Linked DNA regions of Homo sapiens: region 2 is linked to region 1. The links are contacts of gene promoters, found by promoter capture Hi-C in blood cells and fetal thymus (Javierre and others, 2016). All regions are on one chromosome and are shown on one strand. Each heading gives the region's core, a stretch centred on a gene start or on the middle of the fragment in contact. The rest is flanking DNA. Distances are from core to core; before and after follow the strand shown.

Evidence for each region. Contacts are between HindIII fragments. The CHiCAGO score rates a contact against its expected background, and 5 or more counts as called.
Region 2: the fragment with the promoter of PSMB6 here is called in contact with the fragment with the promoter of ANKFY1 in region 1 in 2 of 17 cell types (fetal thymus and erythroblasts); the score reaches 7.3 in fetal thymus.

What each region holds. Positions count from the first base shown.
Region 1 is chr17:4,261,568-4,267,151 of GRCh38, reverse strand. ANKFY1 (ankyrin repeat and FYVE domain containing 1) reads left to right here and starts at 3,173. Exons shown (of 25, transcript NM_001330063.2): 1 at 3,173-3,220. The coding sequence starts at 3,211. RefSeq lists an enhancer at 2,987-3,076 and a silencer at 3,727-3,876. The HindIII fragment of the contact is 3,100 bases long and covers 2,903-5,584 here.
Region 2 is chr17:4,791,901-4,797,484 of GRCh38, reverse strand. PSMB6 (proteasome 20S subunit beta 6) reads right to left here and starts at 1,321. Exons shown (of 6, transcript NM_002798.3): 1 at 1,189-1,321; 2 at 690-757; 3 at 1-47. The coding sequence starts at 1,290. RefSeq lists enhancers at 1,008-1,537, 964-1,562. The HindIII fragment of the contact is 8,413 bases long and covers 1-4,925 here.

The DNA of each region.
Region 1 (5,584 bases), core at 1,924-4,423:
TCGAGACCAGCCTGGCCAATATGGTGAAACCCCCGTCTCTACTAAGAATAAACAATTAGCTGGGCGTGGTGGCGTGTGCCTGTAATCCCAGCTACTCGGGAGGCTGAGGCAGGAGAATCGCTTGGGCCCGGGAGGCGGAGGTTGCAGTGGACCAAGATCGCACCACTGCACTCCAGCCTGGGCAACAGAGCAAGACTCCATCTCAAAAAAAAAAACCAAAAAAAAAAACAACAAAAAAAACCAGACAAGGGCCCAGGGATACCGTTAAGTCATTTCTAAGATGGGTACTTTATCCTCTGGTAGAGGGCTCCTTAGAGCGAGGTTGTGATGAGGAGGCAGTCAAGCCCCCGAGTTGATCAATCCCTTCAGGCGAGTTGTTCTTTGATCATGGCCATCCAGTCCAAGCACACTGAAACGGCACACATTTGTGTGCTACTCAAACGGAGAGGGTCTCTGGTTTTCATCAAATTCTCAAAGGGGGTCATGGCCCTCCAAATCTTTAGGAACCATGGATTCTAGTCCAAGTTCTTCGTCAAATAGGTAGAATCTGAGATGCAGCATAAGGCTTGCAAGGACTTGCCCATCATCAACACAGCAAGTAGCTGCAGAGCCAAACTTGAACTCAGGTCTCTTAATTCCCAGAATAGCACACAGTGGAAACACCTCATCAAACATTTTGAGTGCCTGCTATATTCCAGACCCTAGGCTGGTGCTGCTGAGGTAACGATAGTCATCATGCAAAATCGGGAGTCAGCTGTGACAGTACTTTACAACAACTTTCATGTTGCTTTTACGTTATGGCCCAGGCAATATTCGCAGGGTACTCCACCATAAAAAGATGAGGCTGCTTGCATCCAGAGGAGCCTGGCCTGCCTGGCCACTCTGAAGGCCCCAAAGACTCACCATTGGGCACCCCTATAAACCATTCTCAACAGACAGGGACGCTTTAAGCGATGGCCTTCCCATGGTAGGGAAAGTTCTCCCCTACCATCTTCGTGCCTTTCGTCTCCTGCCACAACAAAAAGGCTTACACGTTTCAACACCGTCTCTCATCTCCCAGGTACCTGGCAGCCAGAATTCCTACTCTTCCTCAAAAATTCAGTGCTTGACTCTATGTTCCCACGATCTAAGCTCCAAATTCCTCCTCCACTCCACCTCACTACCCACTAATGCTTATCCTTAACAGCACCTAAAGCTTCTCCAACTTTAAATCCTCCTTTTCGTTTCTGACACTCTTATTCTGTTCTCAGATTCTTCTTTTTAAATTTCTTTTCTTTTTCTTATTTAATTTTAGAGACAGAGTCTTGCTCTGTCACCCAGGCTGCAGTGCAGCGGCAGGATAGAGCTCACTGCAGTCCCAAACTCCTGGACTCAAGCAATTCTCCAGCCTCAGCCTCAGCCTCCCAAGTAGCGACAACTAAAAGCCTGCACCACCAGGTATAGCTAATTCAGATCCTTCCTTCCAACCTTTTGTCTCTTACTCCTGGCTGTCCTCCAAGGCCACCACTTTCCCTGCAATCCTGAACTATTGATGCATTCTTTTGATTCTCCCTTGAGTAAAAGTCTTTTTTGAAAGGTCTCATGCTGGGCCGGGCATGGTGGCTCATGCTTGTAATTTCAGTACTTTGCGAGGTTGGGGTGGGAGGACTGCTTGAGACTAGGAGTTCAAGACCAACCTGGCCAACAGAGACTCCATCTCTGAAAAAAAAAAAAAACAAAAAACAAGAAAGGTCTCATGCTATTCAGCTATGTTACTGTTTAGCCCTCCATTTTGCAATTGTCTTAACTAATCGTATAGTCCTCCCCACATTCACCAAAGATTTTAGCTCCTGATGCTCCTTTCCTTTCCTACCTCTAAATCCCAACATCTAATTTTCCTGCCTTCTCACTTCCACTTCAGCCACTCTATTCCGTGGCTCTGTCCTGGACTTTTTTTTTTTTTTTTTGAGACAGAGTCTCACTCTGTTGCCCAGGCTGGAGTGCAGTGGCACAATCTTGGCTCACTGCAACCTCTGCCTCCCGGGTTCAAGCGATTCTACTGCCCCAGCCTCCCGAGTAGCTGGGATTACAGGCATGCACCACCACGCCCGGCTAATTTCTGTATTTTTAGTAGAGACGGGGTTTCACCATGTTGGCCAGGCTGGTCTTGAGCTCTAGACTTCAGGTGATTCACCCTCCTCGGCCTCCCAAAGTGCTGGGATTACAGGCGTGAGCCACCACGCCCGGCCTGTCCTGGACTTTTCTCATCTCCTAGTGCTACTTCACTATGAACCTGTTTGCCACTTTAACCACCAAGCTCTCACAACATTGCCTGCACTGCACTGGCCTTCAATTATCAGAGACCTGCAGTTTCGTGGCTCCTCCATCAGTCCCTAGCCAGTCTGTATCCCACGTTTGATGGCCTGGGCTGTCGTCTCATAGCACCCTCAATTTATTTTGGGCAATGCAATCCCAAGCCCTGGATAAATGCTATAATTCAAAATATCTGCTACTGCAGCCTGGTGGCTGAGTTCTAGAAAAAAGTGATCCATCAACACATACATGAGGCACATGAAACCAGGCCTTCCAACTTCAGCGTCCTCTTCCAAAGTTTCTTTGCTCTTCTTGGTCTCCTTCCTTGTCTCATAACTTCACCCATAAAATCGATGTCATCAAACGATCTCCCTGATTTTCTTCCCCCCTATATATCTGCACGCATGTTCTTGTTTCCTACCGTTTTAGTGGAATAACAGGTGACCTGCCTCTAGTCTAAATTTAATCCGTTTTCCTGAGTTCTGCATCGCATGCAGAGCATCCTACCTCCCCAGGGACCTCTCCACTGACTCCTTTCTCCCAGCCTCTCCTTTCTTTACAAACCTAAGGACCAACAAACCCCCTCTCTCGACCCTCTCATTGCCAAGCTTCTCCAGAGTAGTCTGCATTCGTTGTGTCATCCTTTTCGGTGCCCTGCCAAGGACGTGGAATATGACAGGGCTCAGTCAGTGCTTAATAAATCTCGAGCCTCAAAAATACCCGGTAAAAAGAAACCCGGCTCTCCGCTTCCCCCAGAGTCCAGCAACCCCCTCCGCTTTCATTCACCCACTTTCCTACCCTCGGCTCCGCCTTTTGCCGCGCCTCCCGCGATTCTCGCGAGACTTGGTGATTCCGTTCCGCACCGCCCCGGTTGAGCCGCGCACTTCTCGCGAGGTTGCAGGCAGTGCCGGGCCAGACATGGCGGAAGGTAGGGTTTTTTTGTGGAGCCGCGCGGGAAGACACGGAGCTGTGGGGGCGCTGCTGGCCGTGCGAAGCTGCCGTGGGAGGGGAAGGCCGGGCGTGGTTGCATGGGGGCTCCGCGGGTCTCGCGAGCCTTCCTGTCTAGCCTCTCCGGAGCTTCTCGGGCCGGGGTCCGGAGCGCGGTTCCTATGACAACGTCCCTCCCGCGATGCCGACCCCGCGGGACTGCGGCCGGCTGCGGAGCCGGGCTGGCAGGTCCCGCGCCGGTGCTGCGTGCAGCCGCGGGGCCCCGAGGGCAGCACGGGAGGCTCTTGATTGCCGGCGGTGCCGGGACGCCGGGGGAAGTAAGCCTTCTCCTTAGGAAATCGAAACTGCTGTCCTGGCACGTTCTGCATCCGGAAGGGGTCCATCCCTCGCTTGCGGAAGAGCGTGGGTCTCCTCGGGCTGGGTTGGGGTGAGGTGGGGTGGGGTGGGGGCGAGGCAGCAGCGAGCTGGCCCACGCTTCAGGCGGGCGCACTGGCGGCTCCGGCTCTGCTGCAACCCCAGCCTTCAGGCCAGGCGTACAGATGAAGACGGGAGGAAGGGGTTTGCGGGAAGGGAGTTGGCCAAGGTCACACTGCTCACAAGAGGGCTGCTCAAACCAGACCTCTGTGCCTTTGCCTCCCCGTCCAGTGCCTACCCTCTGGTCTCGTGCACTTTTCATGACATTGCAGCTTAAGGCACTCTGGTCTCTCAGAGTCTGCCTGTCTTAATGTAGCAGTAATTAGAAGCCTTCATTGTCAAAGCCTTATTGTACACGTAGGGGGAAAGAAGGCCCAGAGACGGGGAGTTACCTGTCAGGAATCGTGCAGGGACATTGTTGGATCTGGGCAGCCTGGTTCTCCTCTTCACCCCATTATTGGAGAACAGTATTCCTTATTTGACCTTTGTTTATTGAGTGACTGCAGTGTGCTTGGCCACGACCTTTCCTGTTGGTTTTGAGCTTTGACTGAACCCATCACTTGATGGATCTTAGATTTGGGCAGCACCTGACAGTTGGTCGGCTTTTCTCATTTGCATTAGACTTCAGATAACCTCGTGAAGGAGGCCTGGCGTGTGTATTTGCCTTTATTGATAAAGGAATTTAGGCAAAGTTACAGAGATAGCTGTGACTGACACCCAGTTGGTTTTGGGGGGTGTGTGTGTGTGTTTTGAGATAGGGTCTCGCTCTGTCCCACCGGCTGGAGTACAGTGGCGCGGTCACGGCTCACTGTAGCTTCAGTCTCCTGGGCTCAAGCGATCCTTCTGCCTCAGCCTCCTGAGTAGCTGGGACCAGGGGCGCTCGCCACCACACCCGGCTAATTAAAAAGGGGTGTGTGTGTGTGTAGACAAGGTCTTGGCCCCGTGTGGTGGCTCGCGCTAGTAATTTCAGCACTTTGGGAGGCCGAGGTGGGAGGATCGCTTGAGGCCAGGAGTTCAAGAGCAGCCTGGGCAACATGGCGAAACCTCGTATCTACAAAAAATACGAAAGTTAGCCAGGTGTGGTGGCACGTGTCTGTAATTCCAGGTACTCGGGAGGATGAGGCACAAGAATCGCTTGAACCCGGAAAACGGAGGTTACAGTGAGCTGAGATCGTGCTACTGCACTCCAGCCTGGAGTGAATGGAGTGATGGCGGGTGCCTGTGGTCCTCGCAGTAATACTAGGGAGGTGGGAGGATCATTTGAATCCGGGAGGCGGAGGTTGCAGTGAACTGCACCAGCCTGGGCGACAGAGTAAGATCCTGTCTTAAAAAAGAGAGAGACTAGGTCACACTATGTCACCCAGGCTGGTCTCCCAACTCTTGGGCTCAAGCAATCCATCCGCTTTGGCCTCTCTAAGTGCTGGGGTTGCAGGTATGAGCCATCGCGCCCGGCAGGCACCCAGTTTTTGTCTTTACTTTTTCTACCATATCCCTGGAGGGGGAAACTTTAGGTGAATATTGCCTGAAGGCAGAGGAGTAAGAAAAGGAGCAAAAACCCAAGGGATTCCCTGAAGTTGCTTTTTGAGTAAATCACGGAATGTTGTACACAGCAGACAGCTGTTGCTCACAGGAGTGAGGCGGGTAGAAAGGTTCAGGAAGGTCTTCTGTGAGGTAAGGGGTAGTCTGGCGCTTTTGCACTTAGGAAGGTAAGTTCGGTGTTTTGGGAATACATTAGCAAGGTTGAGATTGTGGAGGGCTGCTGGTTTTTCATTCAGCAGCTTTACTGAGCACCTGCTGTGCTTTGCAGTCGGGTTCCAGCCCTGAGGAGCTCATACAGGCTGAGTCAGCATACTCATCATCCGGCAAGCGCCTTGAGAGACATCTCGCCAGTGGGGTGTCTCTCCATAAACACACGAAGAAGACATCCTTT
Region 2 (5,584 bases), core at 72-2,571, 530 kb before region 1:
CGTGAATAGGTGTCAGCTTGTCAGTCACTCGATTGGCGATGTAGGACCTGCAGGATGGCAGAATAGTGAGGAAAGGAGCCCACCTGTCTTCCACCTCCATCCCATCACTACCCACTCTCTTAGGGCTCAGGGATAGGATGTCCAGTATTGCCTTTTTTTCCTTTTTCTTTGAGATGGAGTCTCGCTCTGTTGCCCAGGCTGGAGTACAGTGACGCGATCTCTGCTCACTGCAACATCCACCTCCTGGGTCCAAGCGATTCTCTAGCCCTAGCCTCCCAAGTAGCTGGGACTGCAGGCACGCACCGCCACGCACGGCTAATTTTTGTATTTTTTAGTAGAGACGGGGTTTCGCCATGTTGGCCAGGCTGGTCTCGAACTCCTGACCTCAGGTGATCCACCCGCCTCGGCCTCCCAAAGTACTGGGATTACAGGCGTGAGCCACCGTGCCTGGCCTCCAGTATTGCTTATTCTCATCCAAACTGAAGCGGGCTGGAGAACAGACTTTTGTAAGGATTCCACTAACGAGTGAGGGGAACTGAAAGTAACAAAAGTTGGGACAAATCTTTATCTCCAGAGAGAGAAGAAACCTCTCTTCCCACAGTGGTCTGTGGAGGCAGGCAGGGTGGGCTGGCAGGCAGGAAAGGAAAAGGAAGATGGGAAGACCTTTCACAAATCTGTCCTGAGCTCACCCAGTGGTTGTTCTGGAGTCCGCCCCCAGAACCACGCCCCCGTCAAACTGCACGGCCATGATAGTGGTCTGGGAAAAGGGAAAAAGGAGTAAGTCTACATTCTCCAGCAGACACAAACCTCAATGATCTCTCTACCTAGTTCCAAAAATACAAAATCTGTCCGTCGCTGAACCATTTTCAAATCTTATAGGGGCCTCAGCACCCCGCAGAATACCAGAATGCCAACCCTCAAATCTCAAAAGACTCATCCCGTACTTAAGCCCAAGATCCTCACTAGCCTCGCAGGATTTCAGAATTTCAAACTTCAGCCCACCCTCCACCTCCCACTACGAAGCTACCGCACCACTCCACCATCTTCGGGGTACCTCTCCCCATTCCTGGAGCACAACACATTCCACCTCCTCTCCACCCCTGCCAGATCTCTCAACCCCACTCAGGCTTTATCTTCCCATCGCGTCAGGCCTTGTGCACGTCCTATGAACCCCGATTCCTTCCTCACCCCAGTGGAAACTTCTCGGCTTTCCCAGTCTGGAGTGAACGCCTCCGGCCCCCAAGCCGGTGCTGGCCCGGCTCCCCGAGCAGCTAGTAAGGTAGCCGCCATCTTTCTCCTCCGGTACTGCCTCAAAGCAACTGTCGTAAAGCGCTCTGTCACGCTCTTTGGTCGCGCTTTGAGGCCTTCTGGGAGCGAAGCTACTCCGAGGTTGACGGCAGAAGGGAAAAGAAAAGTACAGTACTGCATGGGGACGGTTCTTTTGCGACAGTGAGCACTTGATGGCAGCGTGGCAAGCAACAAACAAAACAAGAAAGTCAGCAAAACCCCCCCCCCAAAAAACCAAAAAAAACCCAAAAACCGTTCGGCACTTTGGGAGGCTGAGGCGGGCGGATCATGAGGTTAGGAGTTCAAGACCAGCCTGGCCAACATGGTGAAACTCCTTCTCTACTAAAAAATACAAAAATTAGCCGGGCGTGGTGGGGCGCGCCTGTAATCCCGGCTACTGGGGAGGCTGAGGCAGGAGAATCGCTTGAGCCTGGGAGGCGGAGGTTACAGTGAGCCGAGATCACGCCACTGCACTCCAGCCTGAGCGACAGAGCAAGACTGTCTCAAAACAAAAGCAAAAACAAAACAAAACAAAAAACAGTCCTAGTGGCTTGCGCCGTACCGATCTTATGGAGTTACAGTCCAAAGGGCCCACAAAATAAACCTGAGAGTCTTTGGGCTAAAGTGACCACACCATGTTTTCATTTCTTTTAGTTATATACTTAGGAGTATATGCTGGCAGAGGAATTTATGGGTTCTATGATAACTGTATGTTTAACATTTTGAGCAACCGACAAACTGTTTTCCACAGAAACTGCACCATTTTACATCCCTACAAGCCATGTGTGAGGGTTCCAATTTCTCCACATCCTCACCAACACTTGTTATTGTGCATTTTTTTAGTTATAGCCATTCCAGTGGGTGTGAAGTGGTACCCTGTGGTTTTCATTGGTATTTTTCTAATGATTAGTGATGCTGAGCATATTTCCATGAGATAATTGGCCATTTGTATGTCTTTTTTGATGCAATGTTTTTTCAAGTTCTTTGCACATTCTAAAATTGGGATATGTCTTTTGTTTAATATATTTTTGGGGTTTAATTTTTTTTTTTTGAGACGAGGGTGGGGTGTGTGTGTGGGGTGGGTTTGTCTTGCGGTGTTTCCCAGGCTGGAGTGCAGATGGGATCATGGTGCACTATATCAGCCTCGAACTCCTGGGCTCCAGTGATCCTCCCGCCTCAGCTTCTCAAGTAGCTGGGACTACAGGTGTGTGCCACTGAACCCAGCTCTATTTGTCTTTTTTTTTTTTTTTTTTTTTTTTTGAGACGGAGTCTCGCTCTGTCGCCCAGGCGGGACTGCGGACTGCAGTGGCGCAATCTCGGCTCACTGCAAGCTCCGCTTCCCGGGTTCACGCCATTCTCCTGCCTCAGCCTCCCGAGTAGCTGGGACTACAGGCGCCCGCCACCGCGCCCGGCTAATTTTTTTTGTATTTTTAGTAGAGACGGGGTTTCACCTTGTTAGCCAGGATGGTCTCGATCTCCTGACCTCATGATCCACCCGCCTCGGCCTCCCAAAGTGCTGGGATTACAGGCGTGAGCCACCGCGCCCGGCCTCTATTTGTCTTTTTATACTGGTGTGATCTCGGCTCACTGCAGCTTCCGCCTCCCGGGTTCCAGCAATTCTCTTGCCCCAGCCTCCCAAGTAGCTGGGATTACAGGCATGCGCCACCATGCCCGGCTAATTTTTGTATTTTTATTAAAGAGATGGGGTTTCGCCATGTTGGCCAGGCCGGTCTCGAACTCCTAACCTCAGGTGATCCTCCCGCCTCGGCCTCCGAAAGTGCTAGGATTACAGGCATGAGCCACTGTGCCTGGCTCTATTTGTCTTTTTATTGTTGAGTTGTAAGGGTCCTTTTTAATATTCTAGGTACTAGAAACATCAGATACATGATTTGAAAATATTTTCTCCCATTGGATTGTCTTTTCATGTCCTTCATTGGTGTTCTTTGAAGCATGAAAGTTTATAGTGCCAGCTCTTACATTTTTAGGTCTGTGGTCCATTTTGAGTTAATTTTTGTATGTGATGTGAAGTAGAAGTCCAAATCCATGCTTTTGCATATGGATAGTCAGTTAGTTGTTCCAGCACCATTTGTTGAAAAGACCTGCCGGGTGCAGTGGCTCACGCCTGTAATCCCAGCACTTTGGGAGGCTGAGGCAGGCGGATCACGAGGTCAGGAGACTGAGACCATCCTGGCTAACACGGTGAAACCCCTCTACTAAAAATACAAAAAAAAAATTAGCCGGGTGTAGTGGTGGGCGCCTATAGTCCCAGCTACTCGGGAGGCTGAGGCAGGAGAATGGTCTGAGACCAGGAGGCGGAGCTTGCAGTGAGCCGAGATCGGGCCGCTGCACTCCCAAGCCTGGGCAACAGAGCAAGACTCCGTCTCAAAAAAAAAAAAAAAAAAAAAAAGACTGTCTCCCCATTGAATGATCTTGGCACCCTTGTTAAAAATCATTGACCATACATGTATGGACTTACTTCTGGATTCTCAGTTTTGTTTCATTGATCTATATGTCTATCCTATGCCAGTATCATATTGTCTCTATTACTGTAGCTTTGTAGTACTTCTTTTCTTTTCTTTTCTTTTCTCCTTTTCTTTTCTTTCCTTCCTTCCTTCCTTCGTTCTTTCTTTTCTTTTCTTTCTTGACAGATCTTGCTCTGTCACCCAGGCTGGAGAACAGTGGCGTGATCTTGGCTCACTGCAACTTCCACCTCCCAGGTTCAAGCAGTTCTTTTGCCTCAGCCTCTGAAGTAGCTGCGACTACAGGCGCCTGCCACCACGCCAGGCTAATTTTTGTAATTTTAGTAGAGACGGGGTTTCACCATATTGGCCAGGCTGGTCTCAAACTCCTGACCTCGTGATCTGTCCGCCTCGGCCTCCCAAAGTGCTGGGATTACAGGCGTGAGCCACTGCGCCCGGCCCTTTAATTTCTTTTAACAGTGTTTATAATAGTTTTCAATATATAGGTCTTGCACTTCTTTGGTTAAATTTGTTCCCAAGTATTTTATTCTTTTTGATGCTGTTATAAGTGACATTGTCTTCTTAATTTCATTTTTGGATTGTTCATTGCTAGTACATAGAAATACAACTGATTTTGGTTTTGATCTTGTATTCTGCAACTTCATTGAACCATTTATTAGTTCTTTTTGTTTGTTTGTTTGTTTTGTTTTTGAGACAGTCTTACTCTGTTGCCCAGGCTGGAGTACAGTGGCGCAATCTCGGCTCACTGCAGTCTCCACCTCCCGGGCTCAAGCAGTTCTCCTGTGAGTGCCACCATGCCCAGCTAATTTTTGTATTTTTAGTAGAGATGGAGTTTCACCATGTTGGTCAGGCTGGTCTTGAACTCCTGACCTCGTGATCTGCCTGCCTCAGCCTCCCAGTGTTCGGATTACAGGCGTGAGCCACCGTGCCTGGCCATTTATTAGTTCTAAAAGTTTGTGTCTATATTCTTTAGGGTTTTTCTATATAAACCATCATATCATCTGCAAATAGAGATAATTTTATCTCTTCCTTTCCAATCTGGATGCTTTTTATTTCATTATCTTGCCCAGTTGCTCTGGCTAGTTACTTCAGCACAATGTTGAATAGATTGGCAAAAGCAGACATCTTTGTCTTGTTTCTCATTTTAGGGGAAAAGCTTAGGAGAAAGCTTAGGGAAAAGTCTTTCATCATTGAGAGTGCTGTTAGCCCTGGGTTTTTCACAGATGCCTAGGCAGGGGAAGTTCCCTTCTATTCCTAGTTTGTTGATTTTTTTTTTGTTTGTTGTTTTTTTCTTTTTTGTTTTTTGTTTTTTTGAGACAGAGTCTTGTGCTGTTGTCCAAGCTGGAGTGCAGTGGCACAATTTCGGCTCACTGCAGGCTCTGCCTCCCGGGTTCCAGTGATTCTCCTTCCAAAGTGTTGGGATTACAGGCACATGCCACCGTACCTGGCTAATTTTTGTACTTTTAGTAGAGACGGGGTTTCACCATGTTGGCCAGTCTCTACTAAAAATACAAAAATTAGCCTGGCATGGTGGTGTGCCTGTAGTCCCAGCTACTCGGGAGGCTGAGGCAGGAGAATCACTTGAACTCGGGAGGCAGAAGTTTCAGTGAGCCTAGATCGTGCCACTGCACTCCAGCCTGGGCAACAGAGCAAGAGTTGTTCTCAAAAAAAAAAAAAAAAAGGAATACAACATTGGTTCAACATATGAAAATTAATGCAATATACCATATTAATAAAGGAAAAATGGAAAATTATCTCAATAAACTCAGAAAAGCAGTTTAAAAATCCAACATTCTCTCGTAATAAAAAACAATCGT